3 separate regions of the Homo sapiens genome follow, and regions 2 and 3 are each linked to region 1. Evidence: promoter capture Hi-C in 16 types of primary human blood cells and fetal thymus (Javierre and others, 2016). All regions are on one chromosome and are shown on one strand. Each heading gives the region's core, a stretch centred on a gene start or on the middle of the fragment in contact. The rest is flanking DNA. Distances are from core to core; before and after follow the strand shown. Region 1 holds the start of CYLD (CYLD lysine 63 deubiquitinase). Region 2 overlaps TENT4B (terminal nucleotidyltransferase 4B). Region 3 overlaps TENT4B (terminal nucleotidyltransferase 4B).

The links. The method cuts DNA at HindIII sites, captures the fragments that hold promoters and counts their contacts. A CHiCAGO score of 5 or more calls a contact.
Region 2: a contact is called between a fragment that was not itself captured here and the fragment with the promoter of CYLD in region 1, in 13 of 17 cell types (naive B cells, naive CD4 T cells, naive CD8 T cells and 10 more). The highest score is 20.4, in naive B cells.
Region 3: a contact is called between a fragment that was not itself captured here and the fragment with the promoter of CYLD in region 1, in 11 of 17 cell types (naive CD4 T cells, total CD4 T cells, monocytes and 8 more). The highest score is 10.8, in naive CD4 T cells.

The regions. Positions count from the first base shown.
Region 1 is chr16:50,740,789-50,743,414 of GRCh38, forward strand. It overlaps CYLD (CYLD lysine 63 deubiquitinase), which reads left to right and starts at 1,298. Exons shown (of 19, transcript NM_001378743.1): 1 at 1,298-1,336; 2 at 1,974-2,053. CYLD-AS1 (CYLD antisense RNA 1) reads right to left here and starts at 1,959. Exons shown (of 7, transcript NR_184279.1): 1 at 1,883-1,959; 2 at 540-616; 3 at 1-6. MIR3181 (microRNA 3181) reads left to right here and starts at 1,517; the gene lies at 1,517-1,589. RefSeq lists a silencer at 1,113-1,712 and an enhancer at 1,953-2,052. The HindIII fragment of the contact is 2,791 bases long and covers 828-2,626 here.
Region 2 is chr16:50,204,670-50,207,295 of GRCh38, forward strand. The region is part of intron 1 of TENT4B (terminal nucleotidyltransferase 4B); the gene reads left to right. Among named protein-coding and RNA genes, the nearest start is that of TENT4B, 53 kb to the left of the region's middle. The HindIII fragment of the contact is 6,724 bases long and covers 1-2,626 here.
Region 3 is chr16:50,223,686-50,226,311 of GRCh38, forward strand. TENT4B (terminal nucleotidyltransferase 4B) reads left to right here. Exons shown (of 12, transcript NM_001365324.3): 8 at 972-1,098; 9 at 1,206-1,309; 10 at 1,413-1,600. Among named protein-coding and RNA genes, the nearest start is that of ADCY7, 42 kb to the right of the region's middle. The HindIII fragment of the contact is 8,159 bases long and covers 1-2,626 here.

The sequences.
Region 1 (2,626 bases), core at 48-2,547:
TGAAGCCTGGAAAACAGGAAGATAGGAGTGACAAAAGAGGGACAGGAGTAGAATGAGGCTTAGGTTTTCAAAAGATGCTCATTTCATTTTGGATGACTATGGCAAGGAAGAGTGGTGGCCTGTCTACTGCTACTGTTAGTCATCACTCATGTGACTGTTTTTATGTATTCATTGGTTTAAATTCCCTGGATCTCCAGAAACATGTCACTTTCCACTGGGGGAAATTTGTGTCATGATTAAAAACACACACACACACACACACACACACACACACACCCCTCCTCCTTTCTCAGTGTTAATCACCTTCTCCTATAATTAGCACTTAAAATGTCAAAGGAGAAGAAATTAATTAACAGGAGTATCCAGTGCAGCAAGGCTCTAGGACTGATTATAAAAAGCACTTCCTTAAATATTTTGAGTGCTTTTGGGAATCAGAAGCCTCCCTTCTAATTGAAAGATCCTTAACTACACCCTAAGTCCTGGCTGGTGGCCAGGGGTGCGGGGCTGAGTGAGGCGGCGTGTGGAAATCCCTTCTTCACCATCCTTGGGAAAATTCCCTCCAAACTGGGATAGGTGGCAACAGAGGTTCGGAAACAGCAAGCGTCCCAGGCTGAATCTGCGGAGGAGGAAGAGATGAACCTTTCCTGAGCTGGTACTGCGTGCCAGGAACTTTAGCTCGGTATTTTGCCACAATCCTGTAAGACAACCGATACTATGATCTCCATTTTACAGATGAGGACATTGAGGCTCAGCGTGGTTGTGACTTCCTCAGGTCACGCAGCCACTGAATGAAAGCGCCAAAGATTCAAACTGAGGTCTGATTCTAAAGCTTTGCTCTCTCACGGCATCCTGGAATCCTATTTCAACCTTCATCTGGACTCTTAACCCAGCCCAAACCTAAGCGTCTACAGTTTTGACAGCTGAGGCGGGAGCACGGGAGGCGGAGCTGGTGGCAGCGCAGCGCCCCGCCCCGGCTCCAGCATCAGCCAATGGTGACGCGGCACCCACAGCCTTTCGCCCAATCAGCTTGAGCTTCCCGCCTCCATCCGCCGCTCTTCTCTGCCCCGCCCCTTCGCTTTCCCTTTGGTTCCACCGAGCTTGACAGAGCGGAAAGTCCCTTCGGCCGGCGCCGGGCTGGCAGCCATTGGAGGAAGGTCTGTCACAGGGAGGCCCAATCACGGCCCGCTCAGGAGCGCAGCTCGGCCTACGATTGGCTAGCGCGGCGGCTGCCCCCTCCGCCCCCGCTCCCTCCCTCTTCCCTGTGCGGTTCGGAGGCGGGGCAGGTGGGGGCGGGCCCAGGTAGCAGGTTTGGCTGCGCGGGGGCCGCGCGTCGGAGGTAAATACTAGGGCGGTGGGTGTGGGGAGCCGGGGCCGGCCCGGGACGCGGGCTGGGGAGCCGGGGCGAGGGGCGACGCCCCGCCGCCCGAGGTTAGTGAATGAGCGGGCGGCTGGCGGCCGGCGGGCGGCCGGATCCCCTCGGCGCAGCCGCCTGGCCTCAGGGCGTCCGGAGCCGCCGCGGCGACCATCGGGCCCTCGGCGCCGGCCCGTTAGTTGCCCGGGCCCGAGCCGGCCGGGCCCGCGGGTTGCCGAGCCCGCTGACGTCAGCCCGGGTTTCCCCCCCCCACCGGGGCTTCCCCATCCCCCGAGGCTTCCCGGGAGGGCTGCGAGTCCGGGGAGCGTGCGGGGTCGCCACCATCGGGACCCCCAGAGGAGAGAGGACTTGGGGCGGGAGCCGCGCGGGACGCTGTCCCCCTCCCGCCCCCCACCCCATTTACAGATTGGGAGACTGAGGCACAGGCCGCTGGCGGGCCCCGACGGCCACGGTTGGCCTCAGGAGCCCGGGGCTGTGATTCCTACCGACCGCGCCGCGGGGCGTACGTACCGATCGATTTTGCGGGTGTTGGTGGCTCCCGTCCAGGAATGGCAGTCGGGGTTCTGGCCTTGTTAATGGCGTGTTCTGCTTTTTCTTTCAGTTTCCCCCTTTCTAGGGTGAGGATGGTTCTACACAGCCACCCGGAGTTCCTTAGTTGAAAGGTGCGCCCTGCTGTGACAGGTATTCTTTCTTTATGTTTTTCTTTCATGTTAACAATCGAGGGGGGTGGGGGGCGAATGGGGGGCGGGGGCGAAGTCATGAAATCTTCAGGAGATGGTGTTGAGTTTGGTACTCAGCTGGGTCAGCTGCCGGTTATTCATGTACTTGGCATCGTTTCTCTTCCACCCCTTGGCATTTGAATGTTTTAGGATAGTTGTCATCTTCCAGCCACCAAGCCTGTGGCCTTGCAGTCTCCCAGCCCCCATCATCCCTGCCACCTTCTTCTCCTCAATTTTTCCTGGAAAGTTTTATCCTTAGCTCAGCTAAGGAGCATGCCTACCTTGCTTTTGAATTCGGGCTAATTAGGGATCTTAATAAGATTGTTCATTTTGCAATCATTGGCTCTCAGAGAAGCACCCAGGCCTTGAGAGGGTGTTCGTTTGATTGTTGGCTTTCTACACACCCCCTCACGCCCCAAGTAGACTGAATGGCCTTAAGAATTTAGCCTCCCATTCCCCACTGAGCAGTAGGTGGATTTGAACTAGAACAGTATTAGGAGAAAATGATTTGCTGGAAATTCTTATTGAAGTAACA
Region 2 (2,626 bases), core at 63-2,562, 540 kb before region 1:
GAAGAAAATCAAACAGTACAAAATCATGCAAATTCAGACCTCTATTCCACCCCAGAGGAAAGTCCTGCTAGCAGTTTTTGTGTATTCTTCCAGAAATTTGCCTTGCAACGCGTTTGAGTATATAAATAATCCCAGAAAGGATGGGCCAGACACTAGCAGAAACTCACCACACACACTGCACTGGGCATGCAGAAACTTTGCAAAATGTACTGGTGTGTGCTGTCACTGCATTCCTGGGTTTGGAGGTCTTCTGTGTCCCCAGCTGTCAGTATTGCCCACAGGCTGACCACTGAGCTCCTTCCACAGCCGGCCCATATCACCCTCTTTCGAAGTGTGTCTGCAAGGCTAGATTATTAGAGTAATTTAAGTGTTTCTGCTTTGTGTTTTCTTTAATGAATTTTTTTATGATGAAGTTCTTGTTTTAAAAATATACAGTGGTAATTAACATGTATGCATTTTTCTTAAAATGACCCCCCCAGTCCCTCTTCGGATGTGATCACTGTTAACAGTATCGTATATAGACCCTGTTCTGTGTGGGGCGGGCAGAGGGCTGGTTAGTGGGTGGAACATGCATACTCACAACCATATTTTTCACATGGGAAAATATAAAGGTGACAACAAATCTCCTGGACTATAATCTCATCAAGCAGACAATAATCTCTGTTTCAAAAGTGGACAAATACATGCTGATTTTTTAAAAAAAATTATAATAGTACAGAAAGATACAAAAATAAGTTAAAGTCTTCCTAACTCTCCTGCCTGTGCCCTCCACTGGGCAAAAGTCCCTGTCCCTAAGGTAATATCTGTTAACAGTTCTCCTTCCAGAAAACTTGCAATGCAAATAGGAACATTTTGTGTGTCTGCCTCTGTGTGTATGTGTTTACATGTCTTTTTTTTTTTTTTTTTTTTTTTTTTTTTTTTTTTTTTTTTTTTTTTTTTGAGACAGAGTCTTGCTCTGTTATCCAGGCTGGAGTGCAGTGGCATGATCTCAGCTTGCTGTGATCTCTGCCTCCTGGGTTCAAGTGATTCTCATGCCTCAGCCTCCCGAGTAGCTGGAATTACAGGCGCCTGCCACCACACCCAGCTAATTTTTGTATTTTTAGTAGAGATGGGGTTTCGCCATGTTGGCCAGGCTGGTCTGAAACTCCTGACATCAAGTGATCTACCCGCCTCAGCCTCCCAAAGTGCTGGGATTACAGGTGTGAGCCACTGCTTCTGCCCCTGCACATGTCTAACGCACACAAAAGAGATTCTGCTGAACACATTTTTTATGCTTTTTCTTTCCAATTTAACATATTTGACATCTTTATCAGCTTATATAGCTTTATTTTTTTAAGAGGTTATTGGCTATAAAGGGAAAGTGCTTTATGGGTGCTTCTGTTGTTATTTAATTGGATCCTGTTGATGGACATTGATATCATTTCTAAATTTTTTAGTATCCTAATTAATCCTGTGGTGAGCATCCTTATACAGATATCCTTGTTCCCTCATGAAAATATTTCTGGAGGATGGAAAGAAGGGAAATTTTAAAAATTATTTGTGTAAACATTATCGTTTGTTAGTAGAATGACCTCAGGAGAGATTGTAGTAATTTATACTTCCCCACATGCATATGAATGCCTTTTCAATATATTGTTTCAAAATTGGATATCATGAACCTTAAGAGATAAATATATATGTATGTATTTTTTTTTTTTTTTTTTTTTTGGTGGGGGCATGTCCTGTTATTGACAGTTTGTTTTGGTGGAGGGATGTCCTGTTATTGACAGTTATCGAATAGAACTTTGTCAGTTCCTTCATGTAAGGGATGAATTTGGTAATAAAACAGGTCTGACTTCAGTTATGGAACTGGGAAAGCTGGACCTTGATGTGGAGGTGGGCTCAGACATGCTGTGTCTGGGCAGGTATCTCTTGGGAAGCAGTGTCATCCCTGAACAGAAACATGGATGAGCCGCAGGGGACGGTGCTGAGCAGAGGGGCTGGCCGTGGGTCATCTGCCTCCCTTGGCCTAGAAGGCACAAGGGAGCTTTCCACCTTGCCTTTGGTTTTGAGAATGCAGAAGCTACTAAGCAACTCACAGTGTGCCCAGGGTGGTCCAGCTGAAGGATGCGAAATGGTTCTTCCTTTTCCAGCCAAAGATCTTGAACCTCCCACCCCATGACAAGCATTATAAAATTCACATAATTTTGATAGGCTGGATTCCTTTTCTGTAGCAGATCTTTCCTCAGAACAGAAGTTTGTTTTTTTTTTTTAACCTAAATTACCTGTGAGTTTTATTTTTTAAATATGGAATCTGTTTTTTGGACACCTCCTTGTCATATTAAATGTTCTGTTATTAATTTTGAGATTTTAATGTAAATTTTACCCCAGCAAATTAATTTTGTTTCTCTTGCTCTCTCTTTTTTTTTTTTTGGCATCCTTTCCCGTTGTATAGTGGTGCTCATTTTATCATACTGCTTTTATATGACTTTTCTTTTGTGAACAGGGATCTTGTTCACTTTTCCTTTTTTAAAAATTTTTTTATTTTTTTGAGACGGAGTCTTGCTCTGTTGCCCAGGCTGGAGAACAGAGGCACAATCTCAGCCCACTGCAAGTTTTGTCTTCCGGGCTCAAGCGATTCTCCCAC
Region 3 (2,626 bases), core at 55-2,554, 520 kb before region 1:
TCCTTATTGCCTTGATTACAACCAATTGTCAGCAATTAATGAGGCTTTAATGAGATGATTCTGAAGTCCTGAGAGGCAGCAAGCATAGTAATATATCTTTGAATTCATGAGCAGAAGGGTGCAAGGAGACAATGTATTTTCTTTTTGAATTTCTCCTTTCCTGTTTGATTTTGCATGTCTCTTTGTGCTTTTTCCAGCTTCATGTGGGCTTGAAAGTAAGCAGAAAGTAAATTCCTTCCATGCTTTTCTGAAGTTCTGTTTGCTTGCTTGTGTCCTGATTTTTGTGAGCAATATTTTTTCTTGATATAATTGTAAAATAGATTCTGCGTTATTGGACTTCAGTGGAAGTGCTTTTAGTCATTTGCTTTAATGTGTAAACTTTGAAAATGAGTAAGGAAAGGGGGTGAAGAGATAGAGTAGTTGCCTAGGAACCATTTTCTGGCTTATTGAGCTGCCTTATAAACATTAATAGTTCTATGTGTTTATTCATTGAGGAAACATTACATTGATTGGGAGCCTGCTCTGTTCAAAAGTATTGGGCCAAAGGACACGAAGACTTTTCAGCAAGACGATCCTTGCTTTTTAGGGGCTCATAATTTAGAGTGAGAAATAGATATATAGCTAATATAAACCCAAAAAATATAGAAGTATTTCTGATGTAACTTGGGGTTTCACTCTTAGGAGTGAACAGGGCACTATTTCTTTTGTTTGCATAACTGTTTATGTATGGAATGGGATAATTCTTGATGGGCCAGAATACATTCCGGCAACTGATACACCATAATGAAGTACCAACTGCATGATTCACATATTCAGAGACTGGGGAGCTTTGGGGACAGCTCACAGCTCAGCTTCCAGGCACAACTCTGGTGGGATAACTATGGCCCTTGCTCTCCTGGAAGAGAGTCATCAACATTTAGTGCATATTAAGCACAGTCAGGCTTACTATGTTACGTATATTTCTTTTAAAGGTAACGATGTTGGAAGGAGTTCATATGGGGCCATGCAAGTGAAGCAGGCCTTTGATTATGCCTACGTTGTTTTGAGTCATGCTGTATCACCAATAGCAAAGTACTATCCCAACAATGAAACAGAAAGGTAAAAGTTCATCTATAACCAGCCCATTGTGTCAAAATTAGTTGTGGCTTCTTATCTTCAAATTAATGTTATTCCCTCCCTCTCCCTTTCTTTTTAAACACATGCAGCATACTAGGTAGAATAATTAGAGTAACAGATGAAGTTGCCACATATAGAGATTGGATATCAAAGCAGTGGGGCTTGAAGAATAGACCTGAGCCTTCATGCAATGGTAAGATATTTTCCTTGGTCGATTGACTGAGTATTAGAGGCTTTTCTGTGTTGTGTGCGTTTAATGGGAAGAAACGTTTTCCAATCTTTTGCCACTCTTTCAGGAAATGGTGTTACCTTGATAGTAGATACTCAGCAGTTAGATAAATGTAATAATAATCTATCTGAAGAAAATGAAGCCCTTGGAAAATGTAGAAGTAAAACCTCGGAATCTCTTAGTAAACACTCTTCAAACTCTTCATCAGGTCCAGTGTCGTCCTCTTCTGCCACACAGTCCAGCTCTAGTGATGTAGTAAGTATGAAAGCCTCGGCTCTTCTGAACTCAGATGCATGCACGTTCTCTTGCTGGGGTTAACACTGTCTCGAAGGCTAAGGCTACTTCCTTTGCTTACATGTTACTGGGATATTTTAATAACTTTCATGCTTGTACATTTTCTCAACATTTTGTTATGAAAAAGTTCAAGCATATAGTAAAAGTGAACAAATTTTAGTGAGCATTCATGTACTCACCAGTAGATTCTGCTATTAACCTTTTACTTGCTTATGTCATACCTGTCTATCCATCACTCTATCCATTAATTCATCTTATTCTTTGATCCATTTCAAAGTAGATTACAGACATCAGTTCCCCTAGAGTACTGTAGCTTGTGCATCCTTGTAGCCAGACTCCAGTATTTGTTTATTGTTTTTTCCTTTTTTTTTTTTTTGAGACGGGATCTCCCTCTGTCACCCAGGCTGGAGTGCAGTGGTATGATCTCGGCTCACTGCAACCTCCGCCTCCCATGTTCAAACGATTCTCCTGCCTCAACCTCCTGAGTAGCTGGGATTACAGGTGCGTACCACCATACCCAGCTAATTTTTTGTATTTTTAGTAGAGACGGGGTTTCACCATGTTGGTCAGGCTGGTCCTGAACTCCTGATCTTGTGATCCACCCGCCTCAACCTCCTAAATTGCTGGGATTACAGGCATGAGCCACCACACCTGGCCTTTAACGTTTTTCTTTTCTTTTCTTTTCTTTTTTTTGAGACGGAGTCTTGCTCTGTCACCCAGGCTGGAATGTAATGGCATGATCTTCACTCACCTCAACCTTCGCCTCCTGGGTTCAAGCGATTCTCCTGCCTCAGCCTCCTGAGTATCTAGGATTACAGGCATGTGCCACCACACCCAGCTAATTTTTTGTATTTTTAGTAGAGATGGGGTTTCACCATGTTGGCCAGGCTGGTCTCGAATTCCTGACCTCAAGAGATCCACCCGCCTCAGCCTCCCAAAGTGCTGGGATTACAGGCGTGAGCCCAGCTGTTATGACTTTTTAACACC